2 separate regions of the Homo sapiens genome follow, and region 1 is linked to region 2. Evidence: promoter capture Hi-C in human tissues and cell types (Jung and others, 2019). All regions are on one chromosome and are shown on one strand. Each heading gives the region's core, a stretch centred on a gene start or on the middle of the fragment in contact. The rest is flanking DNA. Distances are from core to core; before and after follow the strand shown.

What was found. The method cuts DNA at HindIII sites, captures the fragments that hold promoters and counts their contacts. A contact is called where the count stands out against the background at its distance.
Region 1: a fragment that was not itself captured here is called in contact with the fragment with the promoter of ARHGEF28 in region 2 in 1 of the 25 tissues and cell types used here (H1 embryonic stem cells).

The regions. Positions count from the first base shown.
Region 1 is chr5:73,809,248-73,813,366 of GRCh38, forward strand. The region is part of intron 9 of ARHGEF28 (Rho guanine nucleotide exchange factor 28); the gene reads left to right. Among named protein-coding and RNA genes, the nearest start is that of ARHGEF28, 190 kb to the left of the region's middle. The HindIII fragment of the contact is 5,459 bases long and covers 1-4,119 here.
Region 2 is chr5:73,624,188-73,627,959 of GRCh38, forward strand. ARHGEF28 (Rho guanine nucleotide exchange factor 28) reads left to right here and starts at 2,009. Exons shown (of 36, transcript NM_001177693.2): 1 at 2,009-2,135. RefSeq lists a silencer at 1,718-1,807. The HindIII fragment of the contact is 7,824 bases long and covers 1-3,772 here.

The DNA.
Region 1 (4,119 bases), core at 616-3,115, 180 kb after region 2:
AGAAGAATAATATATGAAAGGGAAATTTTATTTACATTCAACATTTAAAGCTTGTTGAAAATTTACTTCTGTTAAGTTCTTCACTGTTATAATCTCACTGGATCCTCACAATAACCCTTTAAAGTATAGATATGATTCCATTCGCTATGAGACAACTAAGGCTCAGAAAATGGGAATGACTTGGTTAGGGCCACTAACTGACGGAGCCATTATTTGAACCCGGATATCTGTGTCTCCCAAACCCATGATTTTTCTTTTTAGCTTGTGGTGCACTAAAAATGTAAGACACAGTTCTTGCCCACAAAAAATTTTGGGTCCCCCTGGAGGATGAGAAAACTGTGCAAATACTGTAATTCAGATCAAAATGTAAATACTTCTTTGAGATTTACAAGGTTGAAAGGCAGGTTAATGTCTAAATGAAGATCAAGGAAAGTTTCCTTTCTGTGTGGGTCTTTTAGAAAGCTGAAACTTCAAGGCAGCAGTATCTTCTCTGAATAATTATAACCTCATGGAAGTTCTTTTCTAGGTGAAGAATTTTGTAATTAAAGGAGGCACATTCAGGCGAATGTATCTTCCATGAAAGCATTCATACTCTTACATGGTAATGGTTGTATGATATATGGTGAAAGGGTGGCCTGGGGGATATATCATTGAATTCTGCTGTCTGCAATTACAATCAGCCAGTAACAGTCACCTGTTGAATATGAATGAGATGTAAATAGCATCTTGAATTAATTTAAATGCAATTATATTGATAAACTACAGAAAAAAAACCCACTTCAATTACTATAGAAAACAAGGAGGATAAATGATCCACATTCAGAAGAAACGTGTTGGTGAGCAAGGAGGTAAGCTGGCCTAAAAATAAAAAGGGCTGTGCAAACACTATTTTTGACTTCACTTTCTAGTTGTATGTTAACTGTTCATGGCTAGTCAGTAGAAATCATTTTATTCTTTAGAAAACACTGATAAATGGTAAAGCAAATGAGTACATTGGAAAGTCTCTTCTTTTGATATCTGAGTTATTTTCACATATGTCAGTTGGGTGTCTCACATGTATTGGTTAGGTCGTTCAATACTGTTTCAGAATAATTTTGACATCAAGAATCACTTGATATGTAACTGGTCAACAAGGACTGCATTTGGAAGAATAAGATTAGGATGAATCTGTCTGGAATCTCAGCTAATAGAAATACTTTTTATGCAGTTTTTTTCATCTCTCTCTTTGTCTATATTGCCCTGAAGTTCTTCTGACCTGTCACTGGTAGTCACGGGAGGAACAGCCTATTCCAGTAACTTGCTGATGTGGGGTTTATCTACCTCCTAGTTGAGTGACTCTAAAACTTCAATAGGCATGAGAATTGCTTGGCATAGGGGTGGTGCTTGTTGTAAATTATTGCAGATTCCTGGGCCACCCTCAGAGAGATTGATTCAACACATCTGGGATGGGAATCTCATAATCTGCATTTAAAATGAACAGTTTTCCCTCAGGCCCCTTCCTCCATTCTGATGCCTCTGAGAAATTCTGCCCCCGATTCTGCTTTCTCTACATTTGTAGTCTTCTGAACGCTTTGTCACATTTCTGACCAACTTAATAAAACAAGTTAGGGAGCCCCTATAGATTGTATTACTTTTGTTCTGTTTGTAATTTAATAAGAAACATGTCTTTCTCTTTCCCATAGCATCAGTCAACTGTAAGAAGTATAGTATTCCTATACCTTTAGTTAAGGGGATGGTATAGTAGAGGTTTAGCATGTGTAGCAAGGAGCTACAAAACCCACTCCTACCAATTCAGGATGAGGACTTTAGTATTTCTAACCGCCTTGGAAATTTTGCATTTCAAAGGATTCTTTAATGGTAGCAAGTAGAGCTGAAGAAAAATAACAGTATCTCCTGATCCAACACTATTTTGGTTTGGTGATTGTCCACACTAGTGAAGGTCCCCTTTCCTTGGTCTACAGACAACTTAGAAGCAGCCAAAAGGCCATAGACCTATGCACACTCCCATCATTGTCTGCAGCCTCAGAACAATGGGTTTTCTCTACCCAGAAGTACTGTCCTTTTTACAACTGTTGTGCTAAATAAAATACAAATATATATTTTAAACACTTTATAATAGTTCTTGTAGATGTTTTTGTCAAAATATGTGTTTTTAATCAGTTGTCATGTAAAGGTTCTTCATCCACAGGGTAAAGGTCATTGACATGGCAGACCGACTATTGTAAATCATTCATTCTTTCAGCAATTGCCTACAGCGTCCTAGGCACCATTCTGTGCTCTAAAATCAAGAGTGAATGTAAATGCTCTTCCACAAGATTTGGTATATTTTCTAATTAAAGATCCATATGGACTAAAACTCTTTTACTGGATATAAGGGCTGAAAGTTACATATCCTTATAATTATACCCAGCTGGTTGAGAATAATACGTACTTATTCACCTAATTAAAAGCCACAGGCTTGGCATGGTGGCTCACGCCTGTAATCAGCACTTTGGGAGGCCAAGGTGGGTGGATCACGTGAGGTCAGGAGTTCGAGACCAGCCTGGCTGACGTAGAAATAACACATCTCTACTAAAAATACAAAAATTAGCCGGGTGTGGTGGTGCATGCCTGTAGACGCAACTACTCAGGAGGCTGAGGCAGGAGAATTGCTTGAACCCAGGAGGCAGAGGTTGCAATGAGCCGAGATCCTGCCACTGTACTCCAGCCTAGGCGACAGAGTGAGCCTGTCTCAAAAAAAAAAAAAAAAAAGCCACAAAATAGAAAATGTATCAGTATTTCTTTCCACTTAGTTGCAATGTTTGTAACTATACTCTAGTTGTATTTTGTTTTAGTTGTATGTTTATGTGACAAACTATATAAAAACACAGTAGTGATTTATGTAATTCTGATTTTGATTTAAATTTGAAATTAAGTGGTCTCTCCCCTTTCTCCTCTTCTCCCTGTATGCCTCACTCAACCCCTACCCAATCAGACAGGATTAGCTTCCATGGAGCAGGCTATGCAGCTATTTTCTTACACAGCGTGGCACAGTAGTACCGACAATTTAGGAAATAACTGAAGCAAAGAAATGAATGTTAATTAAGACACATACTGTCACCTTCTAAGTCTGCAGACTTAATGGATCCTCATATTGTATGTTTCCAATGTCGTTTAGTTTATTTGGACATCAGGTGACCTCACAAAACAAAACAAACATTTCTTGCTATTGTTTCTACTAAAAGAAATGCTTAAAAGAGACTGCCTGATAACATTTGGGATATCCTTTTTTTCCACTGCAGATCTCGGCTGTTGTGCTTGAGCTTATTTGGGGCATGGATATCTATGTGCCTATAGGAAGCGGAGAAGTGAGCCTGAGCAGTGCCACGATTTATGGGGAGGCAGTAATGAGCTTCTCCTGAATGCTAATTACTGGAGAATTGTTCAGGGAGACGGCAAGAACTGTTGGTTTGTGGTAAATTAGTCACCAGCTCTATTGAGGTGGACTGAAAGTTTAGATCGGAGCTATAAAGGCACCAAAATCCTGATGATTGACGGCCAGACTTGGTGACAGTACCAATATGGAAATACCCCAATTGTGCTAAACAGTGGTAGATAACTTTGTATAAATCTAATGAAATGAGTACAATCTATATAAAAGTTAAAACTTCCAACCACATTAGGATTAAAAGGGCGGTGAGACTGGATTGTTAAATGAATTATGAGAGCTGTTTTGGTTCTTAGATCCGAAAAGCTGCCCAAGCTGCCAATGGTATGAAAGAATAGTCTGCTCTGGAAAGAGCTCTTCCTGGAGTCTGCTGGCCTTCATTTGCCTGGGGATCAAGCTTTCTGGCTGTCCACACACATAAACCTCAACCTTTATCTAACACGGCACCGGGTAGCTCTTCTGAGAAGCAATATTCTCACTCCGAGCAAAACAAGCCTGCACTGGGAGGCTTTTCTTGAATCACAGGCAGCTCTCTTTCAATTCCCAGTTACCTTCCTCCTTCATTTCCATTTCCAGCAACCAGAAGAGGGGAGTTAATGATTCATTTGCTCCCAATGACCTTTTGAATAAGTGGACTGCAGTGTTTCAGCCACTCTTAGCTCCCCCACTTCTCCCTCCTTTACTTCCCTAGT
Region 2 (3,772 bases), core at 759-3,258:
TTAAATATTGATCAAGCTCAGGGCTTGAGAGCAGGCAAGAAAACTGCAGCTAGCATTGTATGTCCTTGGGTGGTGAGAGTTTCACAATTACTAGTTTTGCTGGTTTCTTTTTAGTGGGGAAGGGGCTTGGGGGTAACTTCTTATAATATTTGTTCCTCTTTCCACATTTTTTTGTTTTTTAAAAAAAGATACATACCTGCCAGAATTAAAAAAAAAAAAAAAAGAAAAAGAGGGCTTCAGTACTAGTGATATGAAAAAGGACAATAACAACAAAGGCTTCTAACACATCACCATGTTTATTCACCAGAGTTTGGAAACCATTTTTGTCTGGCATGTTGATTCAGTTAATCTTCAGTTCAAGTGATTCTCCTGCCTCAGCCTCTCGAGTAGCTGGGATTACAGGCACGCACCAACACACCCAGCTAAATTGTGTGTTTTTGTGGAGACGGGGTTTCACCATGTTGTCCAGGCTGGTCTCGAGCTCCTGACCTCAGGTGATCCACCCGCCTCAGCCTCCCAAAGTGCTGGGATTACAGGTGTGAGCCACCACGCCCTGCTCAAAATTTTTTCTATTTTTGAAAAGAATATTATTGCTTTTATTTTTATCTTGTGTACCTTGACACTGGGCAGGATATATATATATATTTTTTTTTTCTTTTTTTTTTTTTGTGGCAGCGCCTGAGGCCAGGCCTTGAGTTCACAGCTCTGTGGGGCTGAGGGTGGAATCAGCTGGGATGACAGCCCAGGTCAGGAGTGCAATGCCAGTGTTGGGGTCCCTTTCCCAAGGCGGAATTGCAGCCTTTGCCTTGGAACAGGGCTAAGGCATTCAGACACACGATGGTCTTTCTCTTGCTAATCTCAGCCTTTCTCAGCATTCGTATCAGCAAGGTGGGCTGGGGAAGGTGGCGGCTGGAAGGGAGACAGAAAAGGCCCAGGCCCAGGAGAAGTGGTGGTGGCAGCCTGGGAGCTGGGCTCCATTCTGGCTTGGGATCTTGGTGGCCAGCTTCCTCGGGCCACACCTTTGTTATGGTTCTGTGCGTAGCCAGTCTTCAAAGGAAAAACAAAGCAGAGACTCAAGGTGATTTTATAAATTTTATTAGAAACTTTATATTTCAATACTAATTTCCTTACAAATAGTCTTAACTATAACACTTACTGCCACAGCAGTCTCAGATGGGCAATTTTACCTTTAAAGCTGCAATAATGGTCTTAAGTCTGTATATGAGAGCCTGGCTGATGAAGAGGCTTGGCTTCTGCTCTTGGGGCTGTCATCACATCTAAGAGGAAAACTGCTTTGGAGGATAAGGAAGTCCCTTCACATTGCTGTTCATTGTAAAAGTGGTTATGGTTTTCATACGTTTTTGAATTAAGACTTGCAGCCACTTGCGTGCATAAACGTGAAGGGAATCGCAGCTTGCAAAGCTCTCGGCCAGGGAACATGAGCTTCAAATAAGAGGGCAAATGCTGTTTTTAAAAATAATATTTCCTATTGTAATAGACCCGGGCCGTATTATGTCACGGGTGTGGTGGCTTTTGGCTGGGAACAGCCTGAGCCTCCCTCGGGCCTGGCACAACTCCTTTCGCGAGCGGGCAGCCCAGCGCCTCCCTCGGGAGGCGCCAAGGCGTGGGGGCGCCCGGGGCGCAACTGGCACTCCTGTGGCCCGCCAGGTCCGCGCCAGCCTCCGCGCCTCCGATCTCCGGAGGCCAACGGCCGCAGCCCCGCAGCGGGAGGGGGCTGGCGGAGACAGCGCGGTAGGGGCAGCTTCAGGTTTCCTCCTGGAGCCGGTGTCGGGCGCGGCCGGCGGGCGGGCCTCGCCATGTGATGCGGCCGCCGCGAGCCGGGCCGGGAGGTGGGCAGGCGGGGATCCAGTGGCAGCGGGGAGGCGCGGGGGGAGCGGGGGGAGCGGGGGCGGCACCCGCTGCTGGCGCAGCCAGCCGGGCCCGGGCGCGCGGCCGCGGCTCCACCCCCTAAACCTTGGCTTCAGCCCGGCCGCCGCCAGGCGTTGGCATCGCCGGGGAGAGCCTTCCGGACTCCGGGCGGCGGCTGGCTGGGGGCGCGTTCCGAGGCGCCCTCAGGCAGGGCGCGGGGGCAGAGCCTCGCCTGGGTTCTGGAGGCTGCGGGGCCATCGCTCCAGGTAAATGCTCTTTGGGACTCCATCGTCTGCGTTTCCCTGCAGCTCTGGGCGGAAAAGTTTGTCCACCTGAGTTCGCATCCGCAGGGCCACTTTCTCCAGGGTCCCCAGGGATGCGAGGGTCAGCAGAGGTGACCGGGGAACCGCTGCAGGCGCTGCGGCGCGAGGGCTGGGCGCCGCCTCCCGCTCCCTCGGGAGCGGCAACAAGTGGAGAGGGCGGCGCAGCCTCGTGCGGCGGCGGCAGCTGCGGAGCGCGGGGTCGCTCGGGCGCACTGAGAGCCGGGGGCTGGGCGGGTGAAAGCCCCGCCAGTGTCCTTCGGGAGACAGGGAAATAAACAGCACTCCTGCGGTGGAGAAGGGAGAACGTCGAGAGTTGGTGTCCGCCCTTCCCATCCATGCTTCAGCTCCGGGACTGAGGGTGCTTGGCAGGGCCAGGACCGCAGAATGCAGACGGAACGCAAGCTCAGGACACACGCACTACCACTTACTCGTGTGGAAGCATCTGCTGTGTTTCAAAAGGCATTTATGGTTACCTTGGTTGGGAAAGGTGGTCAGAATTATGTGGGACTCCTTACGCTTATTTTATGGATTTGTTTCCCCTTAAATACCCGGGGTGTATGTGGTGGTGCCCCAGCCTTCCCGTGCTTAGGTTTTCCGAATGACAGGCCGGTGTTTGGCCAAGAAAGCACCATTTGGGTCGAGGGCTGTATGGAAACTGGGTGCTCAGGCGGCCCTGGATACCCAGCTTTGGTTTCCCAGAGACCAGTTAGATTTCTAAGAAAGAATCCATCTCTATAGGCCCACAGCGTCCCCGCATTGGTTGGCTGGGTGGGCCGAGGAACAGTGGCAACATCTGTGTTTGTGCGGCTTCTCCCGCCTTGACCCCTGCCTGGGTATCCACACATCTCCTCACACCAGGAGTTATAGAGGTTCACCACGGACCACACCAATTGGGCAAAATCCAAAGAAAGTAAGATCTTTAATTTTCGTTTATAAAGAACTGATCATTTGGGGTTCCATGGGGCCCCTGGCTTTCTGAAGCGTTGTTATCTTGTGTTCCTAGGCCCTGAAGCTGTCAGGTGTAAGTGAAATCCTGTTTTCACTGCAAAAACAAATCAAGGACCTACCCTTGTTAGGTTCTGTGGCATCTACTTTGTACATGACAATCCAAGCGTAGTGATGACTTCTGGGAAACCTGGGAAGGTTTCTCTAGATCTGTCCTGGGTTTTTAGTTACACATTCCTAAAGCACATGGGTATTTGCCTAATCTTGATTAATAGCCAAAGTAACCCCTTTGGAGTATTTGCAGAAAAGAGATGAATATGGCAAAACCCTTTGGAATTTTTAATACAACATAGTATTTCAATGTAATGTTCTGATGTGGACTCTATATGTGATTATTGGGCTGATTAACTTTGATCAAATAGGAATTTGGCTAGCATCAGATCTTATAGCTAATGGTTAGGGAAACTGAGGCTCAGAGCTAGCTATAGAGTGTGTGACTCAGATGAATGTCTTGGGTAATGGGAGAATGGAGAACAGAGAATCAGTGTTTGTCCTGCTTTTGACTTTTTTTTTTTCCTTATCAAAACCACACAATCTGGCCAACTAAGAACAGGTTGTATAGCAGGCGTGTCATT